Regions from separate parts of the Homo sapiens genome. Here region 1 is linked to region 2. Evidence: promoter capture Hi-C in 16 types of primary human blood cells and fetal thymus (Javierre and others, 2016). All regions are on one chromosome and are shown on one strand. The core of a region is centred on a gene start or on the middle of the fragment in contact, and the rest is flanking DNA. Distances in the headings are between cores, read along the strand shown. Region 1 overlaps PIANP (PILR alpha associated neural protein). Region 2 holds the start of ACRBP (acrosin binding protein).

The links. The method cuts DNA at HindIII sites, captures the fragments that hold promoters and counts their contacts. A CHiCAGO score of 5 or more calls a contact.
Region 1: a contact is called between a fragment that was not itself captured here and the fragment with the promoter of ACRBP in region 2, in 16 of 17 cell types (naive CD4 T cells, activated CD4 T cells, naive CD8 T cells and 13 more). The highest score is 20.8, in naive CD4 T cells.

The regions. Positions count from the first base shown.
Region 1 is chr12:6,690,199-6,695,982 of GRCh38, reverse strand. PIANP (PILR alpha associated neural protein) reads left to right here. Exons shown (of 5, transcript NM_001244014.2): 5 at 332-2,192. The coding sequence ends at 557. Among named protein-coding and RNA genes, the nearest start is that of ZNF384, 3.7 kb to the right of the region's middle. The HindIII fragment of the contact is 900 bases long and covers 3,509-4,408 here.
Region 2 is chr12:6,644,752-6,650,914 of GRCh38, reverse strand. It overlaps ACRBP (acrosin binding protein), which reads left to right and starts at 3,483. Exons shown (of 10, transcript NM_032489.3): 1 at 3,483-3,591; 2 at 3,903-4,121; 3 at 4,338-4,432; 4 at 5,578-5,695. The coding sequence starts at 3,549. ING4 (inhibitor of growth family member 4) reads left to right here. Exons shown (of 8, transcript NM_016162.4): 8 at 1-614. RefSeq lists enhancers at 3,556-3,625, 3,549-4,062. The HindIII fragment of the contact is 16,958 bases long and covers 1-5,640 here.

The DNA.
Region 1 (5,784 bases), core at 2,709-5,208, 45 kb before region 2:
TGCCAGTTGTCTGCTGAAGACAGAAATGACTCTTCTGGGCATGTAGGGGAGAGGACATTGTGGTGGTGGGGAGGGGATATTAATTTTGTCGATCTGGATCAGGTTTGGAGGGTAAGGAGGTTTAGATTACCAAGCTCCCCTAGAGGGCAGGGGAAGTGGCTTTATGGGCACAGAGTCCCAGGGGATTTAGTAGAGAGAACTGTTAAAGGCCAGTTTCTCTGCTATAAGATGTTGGGAGTGACTGGGCGAGGCTGGGGGTGACCACTGGTGCAGGCCCAGGATGGGGGCTACTTGAGTGTGCAAGAGAACCTCTTTTCCTCTGGTACCCCAGCTGGGACCGCAGCCAGAAGCGACGCAGACCCTCAGGGCAGCAAGGTGCCCTGAGGCAGGAGGAGAGCCAGCAGCCACTGACAGACCTGTCCCCGGCTGGAGTCACTGTGCTGGGGGCCTTCGGGGACTCACCTACCCCCACCCCTGACCATGAGGAGCCCCGAGGGGGACCCCGGCCTGGGATGCCCCACCCCAAGGGGGCTCCAGCCTTCCAGTTGAACCGGTGAGGGCAGGGGCAATGGGATGGGAGGGCAAAGAGGGAAGGCAACTTAGGTCTTCAGAGCTGGGGTGGGGGTGCCCTCTGGATGGGTAGTGAGGAGGCAGGCGTGGCCTCCCACAGCCCCTGGCCCTCCCAAGGGGGCTGGACCAGCTCCTCTCTGGGAGGCACCCTTCCTTCTCCCAGTCTCTCAGGATCTGTGTCCTATTCTCTGCTGCCCATAACTCCAACTCTGCCCTCTTTGGTTTTTTCTCATGCCACCTTGTCTAAGACAACTCTGCCCTCTTAACCTTGATTCCCCCTCTTTGTCTTGAACTTCCCCTTCTATTCTGGCCTACCCCTTGGTTCCTGACTGTGCCCTTTCCCTCTTCCTCTCAGGATTCCCCTGGTGAATCTGTGATGCCCCCAATGTTGGGGTGCAGCCAAGCAGGAGGCCAAGGGGCCGGCACAGCCCCCATCCCACTGAGGGTGGGGCAGCTGTGGGGAGCTGGGGCCACAGGGGCTCCTGGCTCCTGCCCCTTGCACACCACCCGGAACACTCCCCAGCCCCACGGGCAATCCTATCTGCTCGCCCTCCTGCAGGTGGGGGCCTCACATATCTGTGACTTCGGGTCCCTGTCCCCACCCTTGTGCACTCACATGAAAGCCTTGCACACTCACCTCCACCTTCACAGGCCATTTGCACACGCTCCTGCACCCTCTCCCCGTCCATACCGCTCCGCTCAGCTGACTCTCATGTTCTCTCGTCTCACATTTGCACTCTCTCCTTCCCACATTCTGTGCTCAGCTCACTCAGTGGTCAGCGTTTCCTGCACACTTTACCTCTCATGTGCGTTTCCCGGCCTGATGTTGTGGTGGTGTGCGGCGTGCTCACTCTCTCCCTCATGAACACCCACCCACCTCGTTTCCGCAGCCCCTGCGTGCTGCTCCAGAGGTGGGTGGGAGGTGAGCTGGGGGCTCCTTGGGCCCTCATCGGTCATGGTCTCGTCCCATTCCACACCATTTGTTTCTCTGTCTCCCCATCCTACTCCAAGGATGCCGGCATCACCCTGAGGGCTCCCCCTTGGGAATGGGGTAGTGAGGCCCCAGACTTCACCCCCAGCCCACTGCTAAAATCTGTTTTCTGACAGATGGGTTTTGGGGAGTCGCCTGCTGCACTACATGAGAAAGGGACTCCCATTTGCCCTTCCCTTTCTCCTACAGTCCCTTTTGTCTTGTCTGTCCTGGCTGTCTGTGTGTGTGCCATTCTCTGGACTTCAGAGCCCCCTGAGCCAGTCCTCCCTTCCCAGCCTCCCTTTGGGCCTCCCTAACTCCACCTAGGCTGCCAGGGACCGGAGTCAGCTGGTTCAAGGCCATCGGGAGCTCTGCCTCCAAGTCTACCCTTCCCTTCCCGGACTCCCTCCTGTCCCCTCCTTTCCTCCCTCCTTCCTTCCACTCTCCTTCCTTTTGCTTCCCTGCCCTTTCCCCCTCCTCAGGTTCTTCCCTCCTTCTCACTGGTTTTTCCACCTTCCTCCTTCCCTTCTTCCCTGGCTCCTAGGCTGTGATATATATTTTTGTATTATCTCTTTCTTCTTCTTGTGGTGATCATCTTGAATTACTGTGGGATGTAAGTTTCAAAATTTTCAAATAAAGCCTTTGCAAGATACTCGAGTCCCCTGGTTCTGCCTTCTGACCCCCGTAGAGAGGAGGAGAGGGGTGGGCAGCTAGGAGGAGGCACAGGATGAGGTGGGGACCCCCTCTAGACCTAAGTCACCTGCCCTCCTCTGACCTGGAGCTGGGGGCCAACTGGGGCTTTAACTTGGGACAAAATGGAAGGGAGCCATCCTGACGAGGAGCAGTGGTACAAGAGAGAAACTAGAATAGAAATCGTGGCTCACTTATTCCTTGCCAGGGAGGGTCAAGAGAGACCAAAAAAAGGGAGACAGAAGAAAAGGAAAGTTACATGGAAGGATAGGAGGTGGATCAAGGCGGAAGAGAGACCTGATAAGACAGACGGAGGGAGAAGGGGGAAAGGAGAAGAGAAAAATGGAGCAATGGAGAAAAGATGAGAGGGAGCCAGCCATCCGAAAGAAGCTGCCCTGCTTGGTTTATTTTCAGCTTTGCTCCCTAACCTGCCCCCACCCACAGCTGCCCCCCAAAAGCTGTGCAGAATCAGAAGCCCTGTGGTTAACTCGTTAGCTTTCCCTACTCTGCCCTCTCAGAGAGAGGCACTGCAGGGGTGTGGGGGTGGGATCAAGGGGTGTTTTTGGGGAGGGAATGCAGGCTGCCCAGCTGGGATCAGTCACCTCTCAGTCCCCAATTTCTAGGTTTGGCTCTTGTAACAGCCCTGTGAAAACCCACACATCAGCCTCTCAGCTGTTGCTAGGCTCTATTGCTATGGTAACCACCCAGGTCCCATCTATCCCCCCTCCCCCAATCTGTGCCCCACTTGCTCCCTGGAAATGCGGTGGCCCCAGGGAGGATAGGGATGATGTAGTGTACAAAAGGGTGGCCTGGGCTGCTCTGGACTGGATATGCCCCCATGCATTTATCTTTCAAGCTAGGTTAGGAATGTCTGTGTGTTGGTAGGTGTGTGCTTTAGGTGTTGGGAGCTTTACTGTGAGCTGAGGGAAGTGTGGCTGAGCCTGTGCAGCACATAATGCTGAGTGCCAGGAAGAGGCAGTGTATTTCTCAGGATTAGAGCAGTGTGTGCATTCAGGGCGTCACACTCCCTAAGAAAAGGACTGCTACAAGGGAAAGAAGCAGAGCTGGGCCAAGGATTGATGAACCAACTCAAAGCAGAGGTGCCCGGCAAACAAGCTTCTGAGGAGTCAACTCACTGGGGGCATGAAGATATCCCAGCAGGTGGCTGATGGGAGAGCGGGCTGGATAAAACCTGAGGGTACAGGATGAGGCATGGATGGTATACACTGTGGGCCGTGAGGGAGGGATCCAGATCCAAGGAGGGTGGGATAGGAAGCTTCATTAACCTTTCCTTCTTTCCCCACAGGAATCTAGTCCTTGTCAGGTGAGGGTGGGGAGAAAAGAGAAGCATTGGCACAGAAGGGGAAGGAGCTCAAGTGCCGGAGAGCACACTGGGCTCTCACCTTCAGCAAGGATCTCTCTTCAAAGGGACAGTGTGACCCGTGGCTCATCCATATGCAAAAGGCAAACATGAAGGCCCCTAATGAAGAGGGAATTAATTACTGCCTGATTAGACCACTGTTTCTCTAAATTTAAATAAATTAAAATACACCAGCAAGGTACTGGAAATCCTCACCTGTTCCCTCTTCCTAAATGTCCTCCTTTCCCCATGGAAAGTCAGAAGGCAGGAAAGACAGAGGAGGAAGGAGACTGTTCCAGACTCTGAACTGTACTAAAAAAATTCTCCCAAATGATACTGCACTGTCACGTTAGCCATGAAGAGTCGTAAGGCCCTGGGGAGCAAGCCCTAACTTTTCTCTCCTGTAGTTGAAACAGAGACTGTGGGGCTTTGAGAGGTCCTCAGAAAGCTGCAGCAGAGTCACTAGCCAAGAAAAAAACAATGGCCATGCTGTCCTTTTGGGAACTGGAAGGTTCTTCGAGGTCACACATCACAGCCACCACTGGAACCAGCGTCTCATCACCATCCTTTCTTTGCCTCCTGAGCTGTGCATCAAATGACTCAGCCAGGCTTCTCTTAGCATTTTTCTGGAATGCTTGCCACTGCGGCTTAGACCAAACCAGGGAATGGGGAAGCCCCCAGGAGGAGGGAGGGATCTCCCAGGCACAGCTTAGGGTGTGGAAGTGATTCAAGATGGAAACAGTATGCCAGCTGGAGAACCCCAGGCTAAAATTAACAGCCCTCCTCCCCCTACGCCCCACATTTATTGTTCTAAAGCTTTTCCCTAAGGAGTTCAAAGCACTTGAAACTTCTTTTTTTTTTTTTTGAGATGGAGTTTAGTTCTTGTTGCCCAGGCTGGAGTGCAATGGCGCAATCTTGGCTCACCACAACCTTCGCCTCCCAGGTTCAAGTGATTCTCCTGCCTCAACCTCCCAAGTAGCTGGGAAACTTCCTTCTTATAGCAAGGGCAGGAATAGGGCTGACGGAGACACGGAGACCCAGGAAGTGCCCAGTTAACATAAATAGGAAAAGAGCAGGAGGAGAACCAGAACGTATAGCTATTATTACTATTTCCTGTTCCCACCTTTCAATACCAGCCCCTGATGTCAAGGTTTCTTGAATCAGCAATCTCTAACCCACACAGCAATAGGTCTGGTCACATCTGAGCCCTTAAAATCCTTACTCTGCCAACTGTTGCTACTCAGTCAACAGAGACTGAGTGCTGAGCCCAAAAATGTGATAAAGGGAACAGACACTTTAAAAAAGATACAAACTACAATTACAATGAAATGCATCATCTATTTAAATATTTAAAGGCGTACTTTGTTACTTTCTTGCTTTGACCTTGGGGGAAAAAATCACTTAATCCTTTACAGGCTTATTTTCATTATCTGTAAAATGAGCATTATAATTATTTCTGTTAAAGTTATTTTTTGCTGGGCGTGGTGGCTCACGCCTGTAATCCCAGCACTTTGGGAGGCTGAGACAGGTGGATCAGTTGAGGTCAGGAGTTCGAGACCAGCCTGGCCAACATGGTGAAACCCCGACTCCACTAAAGATACAAAAAATTAGCCCGGTGTGGTGGCGGGCGACTGTCATCCCAGCTGCTAGGGAGGCTGAGGCAGGAGAATCGCTTGAACCCAGGAGGCAGAGGTTGCAGTGAGCCAAGATGGCGCCAATGCACTCCAGCCTGGGCAACAGGGTGACACTCTGTCTTTAAAAAAAAAAAAAAAAGGTTATTTTTCTCAGCAAGAGGCTCTTACCATTAGTAGGAGAGACCTCAGTTCTGCTTAGAGCTGAGCCCAGGGGGATTCTGGCCAGGTCGGGGTGCACGCTTGTAACAGCATTCACTTGTTCAAACAACATATTCAGCATTTACTATATGCTCAGCAAAGCAACGTATTTCCTTCCATGAGGAACTGACAATCTTGCTGGGGAATCACATGTATGAAATAGTTAAAATATCAATAAAAGGTACGTATTAAATACTATGGGAATTCAGAGGGACCATTACAGGTTGGAGCAATCAGGCAAGGCTTCCTAAAAGGGTTCATATTTAGGTGTTCATAATGAACTATAGTTCATTTATACAACAAGAGTTTACAGACCACTTAACTGCCAGGATATGAGGATACAGCAACGAACAATTCAGTCC
Region 2 (6,163 bases), core at 2,234-4,733:
TGCTGTATTTCAGAGGGAGGGTCCTTTTCATTCTCCTTGCTTTGTATTTAAGGACTGGGGCATAGCATGGGGGCAGTCCCCCAGACCTCTTCATTCCCCCTCCTGTGGTGAGGGCTAGGTGTGATCAACACTTTTCTTCTCCATTCCCTTCCTGCTTTTTTCATGGTGGGGGATCCACCAGGTCATCTAGGCTCTGGCCCTAGTTGAAGGGGCACCCCTTCCTCTGTGCCAAGAGGATTCATCCTGGGAGAGGGGGCAAGGTGGAATGCAGATAACTCACATGTAAAAGGAACTTGGGTAGGTAAATAAAAGCTATACATGTTGGCCTGCTGTGTTTATTGTAGAGACACTGTTTTAGTAAACATGCTGAGCATTCATTTTGCGTCCTCTGGGTTGGATGCAATGTGAGAGGATGGCATGCCAGAATTAGGACACGACATGAAACCAGAGTGGTGCCTCTGTCCGAGAACTTGTAAGTTCTCAACTTGGGAAAGACAGAGGTGCTGGAGGGTAGGCCTCAGACCAGGGGGTCTCCAAAACTTTGTAAATCATGCATCTTTTCTCCATAAAACATCTTTCACTTAATTTCCAATAAATGATGTATTTGTGCTATACATACGTACTGCTATACTATACATTAGCTTGACTTCTTTTTTTTTTTCCTTTGAGGCGAAGTCTCACTCTGTTGCCAGGCTGGAGTGCAGTGGCGTGATCTTGGCTCACTGCAGTCTCCGCCTCCGGGTTCAAGTGATTCTCCTGCCTCAGTCTTACAAGTAGCTGGGACTACAGGCACATGCTACCACGCCCAGCTAATTTTGTATTTTTAGTAGAGACAGGGTTTCACCGTGTTGGCCAGGATGGTCTCCATCTCTTGACCTCATGATCTGCCTGCCTTGGCCTCCCAAAGTGCTGGGATTACAGGCGTGAGCCACAGCACCCAAGCTGATTTCTTTTTTTCATTTTTTAAAATTTTTTTTAAAGTAGGCCAGGCCCGGTAGCTCACGCCTGTAATCCCAACACTTTGGGAGGCCAAGGGAGGTGGATCACCTGAGGTCAGGAGTTCAAGACTAGCCTGGCCAACATGGCGAAACCCGGTCTCGGCCAAAAATACAAAAATTAGCTGGGCGTGGTCATGGGTGCCTGTAATCCCAGCTACTCGAGAGGGTGAGGCAGGAGAATCGCTTGAACCTGGGAGGCAGAGGTTGCAGTGAGCTGAGATTGTACCACTGCACTCCAGCCTGGGCGATAGAGTGAGACTCCGTCTCAAAAAAATAAATAGGCTGGGTGCGGTGGCTCACACCTGTAATCCCAGCACTCTGGGAGGTTGAGGTGGGTGGATCACCTGAGGTCCGGAGTTCGAGGCCAGTCTGGCCAACATGTTAAAACCCCATCTCTACTAAAAATACAAAAATTAGCCAGATGTGGTGGCATGTGCCTATAATCCTAGCTACTTGGGAGGTTGAGGCAGGAGAATCACTTGAACCCAGGAGGCAGAGATTGCACTGTGCTGAGACCAGCCATAATTTTTGTATTTTTAGTAGAGACTGGGTTTCACCCTTTTTTTTTTTTTGAGATGGAGTCTCACTCTGTCATGCAGGCTGGAGTGCAGTGGCGTGATTTCGGCTCACTGCAACCTCCATCTCCCGAGTTCAAGCAATTCTCCTGCCTCAGCCTCCCGAGTAGCTGGGACTACAGGCACATGCCACCACGCCTGGCTAATTTTTTGTATTTTTAGTAGAGACAGGGTTTCACCGTGTTAGCTAGGATGGTCTTGATCTCCTGACCTCGTGATCTGCCTGCCTTGGTCTCCCAAAGTGCTAGGATTACAGGCATGAGCCATCGCACCGGCCAAGTTTCACCATTTTGGCCAGGCTGGTCTCAAACTCCTGGCCTCAAGAGATCCACCCTCCTTGGCCTCCCAAAGTGCTGGAATTCCAGGAATGAGCCACAGTGCCTGGTCTCTATTTTATTAATTTATTTTATTTTATTTTATTTTTGAGACAGGGTCTCACTTTGTCACCCAGGCTGGAGCACAGTGGTGAGATCTCAGCTCACTGCAGCCTTGACCTCTGAAGACTCAGGTGATCCTCCTACCTCAGCCTCCCCAAGTAGTAAGTGGGACAACAGGCGCACACCACCACACCTGACAATTTTTGTATTTTTTGTAGAGACAGGGTTTCGCCATGTTGCCCAGGCTGGTCTGGAACTCCTGGGCTCAAGGAATCCACCCGCCTTGACTTCCCAAATGCTGGGATTACAGGCGTGAGCCACCAAGTCTGGCCCAAGACAATTTCTTGTTTTATTTTTCTTTTTTACTTTTGCTTTTGGGTGGGGACAGGGTCTCACTTTGTCACCCAGGCTGGAGAGCAGTGGCCCGATTGCACCTCACTGCAGCCTTGGCCTCATGGGCTCAAGCGATCCTCCCATCTCAGCCCCCCAAGAAACTGGGACTACAGGCACGTGCCACCACGCTTGGCTAATTTTTTGTACTTTTTGTAGAGACGAGGTTTCGCCCTGTTGCCCAGGCTGGAATTTCTCATTTTAAACACAAAACAGATACAAAAGCAAAAGTTCTCCTCCCATACCTCAGTGGACTGTCTTACTCGATTCTCCCTTGGAAACCACTTTCGTAGACCACTGAGCCACCCTCTTGTTTTCCCCTTGGACCCATTTTGCTCATGGAGGCGCCCTGTCTAGTTCCTACCCAGATAGGCCTTGACTTGGTTTTGCACATTCTATCTCTGCCTGCGCTTAGCTCTAGACCTCACGACCTGTTTGTTGGGCGAGTTGCTTCCCTAAGCCCCGATTTCTCATCTGTAAAACGAATGATAGTGTATCTACCTTATGGGATTCCTATGGCAATTACGTAAGGTAGTGCATGTAAAGATGCTAAGTGGCTGGCTACGGTGGCTCACACCTGTAATCCCAGCACTTTGGGAGGCCGAGGTGGGCAGATCATTTGAAGTCAGGAGTTCAAGACCAGCCTGGCCAACATGGTGAAACCCAGTCTCTACTAAAAATACAAAAATTAGGCCGGGCATGGTGGCTCACGCCTGTAATCCCAGCACTTTGGGAGGCCGAGGTGGGCGGATCACAAGGTCAAGAGATCGAGACCATCTGGCCAGCATGGTGAAATACCATCTCTACTAAAAATACAAAAATTAGCTGGGCGTGGTGGCGTGCACCTATAGTCCCAGCTACTCGGGAGGCTGAGGCAGGAGAATCACTTGAACCTGGGACGCCGAGGTTGTAGTGAGCCGAGATCGCACCACTGCACTCCAGCCTGGGCGACAGAGTAGGACTCCGTCTCAAAAAAAAAAGAAAAAGACGCTAAGTGAAGGTAGCTGTTTGCCATTCCTACCATCTGGATGGGCTCTGGCCACTTTAGGGCCCTGAGAGCCCGGCTGTCGAGGCCCCGCCCCGGCCCGCTCTTTGTGACGCGTGGGCGGTGCCCGCGTGCGCCCCGCCCCGCGCCTGCGGCTCTCTCTGCGGCTTGGCCCGTTAGAGGCGGCTTGTGTCCACGGGACGCGGGCGGATCTTCTCCGGCCATGAGGAAGCCAGCCGCTGGCTTCCTTCCCTCACTCCTGAAGGGTGAGAGGTTTACACCTGCTCCAACAGACTCTCCCCGGGCTAGTCCTCTCCCTCCCGAGAGCTCTGCTTTTACGGTTTCTGGATCGCTTCCTCATGGTGGTCGCGCTGGGTCGGCTCCCTAGGTCCTGGGATACTCCCATCTCCCCCCGCCCGCGGCCGGACCTTTGCCTCTGTCTCTAGACTCCCCCCGCCCTGGTCAGCAGGGATAACCCTCACCCCGTTCCTAATTTGCCAGTCTGGGTCTGTCTGTCCTGGTCTCGGAGCGGGTTTTGGGGTTCGGTCCTTCCATCATCCGTTCGCCCGCTCCGCAGTGCTGCTCCTGCCTCTGGCACCTGCCGCAGCCCAGGATTCGACTCAGGCCTCCACTCCAGGCAGCCCTCTCTCTCCTACCGAATACGAACGCTTCTTCGCACTGCTGACTCCAACCTGGAAGGCAGAGACTACCTGCCGTCTCCGTGCAACCCACGGCTGCCGGAATCCCACACTCGTCCAGCTGGACCAATATGAAAACCACGGCTTAGTGCCCGATGGTGAGGGCCAGACTAGGGGGGAAACCGAGGCACCCAGAGTGTTCACCCAAACCTCAGGGCAAAAACCCCTGTGCTCATGTGAGGCGGGGAAGGGCATGGCTGGCACCACACCATGAGCTCGTACTCTCCACCCTCCCCATGGCGTGGAGTCCATTGCCCACAGCCCCACCCCAAGCTCCCCACGGGTTCATCTTCTCCACCCCTGCCCTTTCTCAGGTGCTGTCTGCTCCAACCTCCCTTATGCCTCCTGGTTTGAGTCTTTCTGCCAGTTCACTCACTACCGTTGCTCCAACCACGTCTACTATGCCAAGGTGAGGCCCAGGACAAAGGTTGGATTTGGTGCCCCAGGGCCAAGGGAGAGGCGGCAGCAGTGGGGAGTTGAGGAAGGGTTCCAGGAGAGTCATCCTTAGCTCCTCCTTCCCTGCCATTTTGCCAGTCATTTACCCAGATTATATATGAATACAGTCTCACCTTGGATATTCAGATTGAACAATTCTGTTACTGCAAGAAAAGTAGAGAAGAGACTGGGCATGGTGGCTCATGCCTGTAATCTCAGCACTTTGGGAGCCCGAGATGGGCAGATCACCTGAAGTCAGGAGTTCGAGACCAGCCTGGCCAACATGGTGAAACCCCGTTTCTACTAAAAATACAAAAAAAAAAAAAAAAAATAGCCGGGCTTGGTGATGGGCGCCTGTAATCCCAGCTACTCGGGAGGCTGAGGCAGGAGAATTGCTTGAACCCGGGAGGCAAAGGTTGCAGTAAGCCGAGATCATGCCACTGCACCCTATCCTGAGTGGCAGAGCAAGACTGTGTCTCAAAAAAAAACAACAACAGGGACGAGTGCGGTGGCTCACGCCTGTAATCCCAGCACTTTGGGAGGCCGAGGCAGGCAGATCATGAGGTCAGGAGATCGAGACCATCCTGGCTAACACGGTGAAACTCTGTCTCTACTAAAAATACAAAAAATTAGCTGGGCGTGGTGGCAGGCGCCTGTAGTCCCAGCTACTCGAGAGACTGAGGCAGGAGAATGGCGTGAACCCGGGAGGTGGGGCTTGCAGTGAGCCGAGATCGCGCCACTGCACTCCAGCCTGGGTGACAGAGTGAGACTCCGTCTCAAAAAAAAAAAACAAAAAAAACAAACCCAAAACCCAAACAAAAAGAAGTAGGGAAGAGGGATGGGAAGAGGCAAAGAGATAAGCCCTTACGTTTCTTCGAACAGGTCAGTGATTTTGAGTCAAATGCAAAAGTGACGGCAGGGATGTGGCCCAGACAAACAGAGATTCATCTTCTGAAGGGACCCTTTCTCAGGTCTAGAGGGTTCCAGCAGGGACCATGTCCCTTTATCCCTGCCTAGAAACTGAGAGATAAGACATGCTGGAAAAGGGGTTGAAGAACCAGCTGGAGCAGAAGTCTGCCCTTTAGGAAAGGCTTTCCCATTTTCCTTCTCTTCCTGCAGAGAGTCCTGTGTTCCCAGCCAGTCTCTATTCTCTCACCTAACACTCTCAAGGAGATAGAAGCTTCAGCTGAAGTCTCACCCACCACGATGACCTCCCCCATCTCACCCCACTTCACAGGTGAGACCCTCTCAGCAGCCGGGAGACCACCAGCTACTCCCACAACTCCCAGAGCCCACAACGTAAGGCATCCATGGCAGGGAAATGGGAAGCATGTTGGGCGGGAAGGGGGCGCCAGCAGACAGCTGTTTACACAAAGGAGTGTCAGCTTTTTATGAATACAAGTTAGGGCTCTCCTGGACCAGAATCTCTTCTGCCATTACTTACAATTTTGCCCTGAATCCATTTTTCCCAATTCCAGAGACATTGTTGCATTACAAAGGACCTCTAGGCCCTTTATAAGCTAATGTCTTCACTTTAGAAAGGATTGACTGCTAGCTACTCAGCATACTTGGTGTTTCCTAAGGGAGAGGGACAAATGGTGGTATTTGAGGTGGAAGTTAGGGAAGGAGGAGTGCTTGCCAGGGAGGTGGGAAGGTGATGCATACCACCAGCCTTACAGTTGCCGTGGTAATGTTCTTTTAGTTT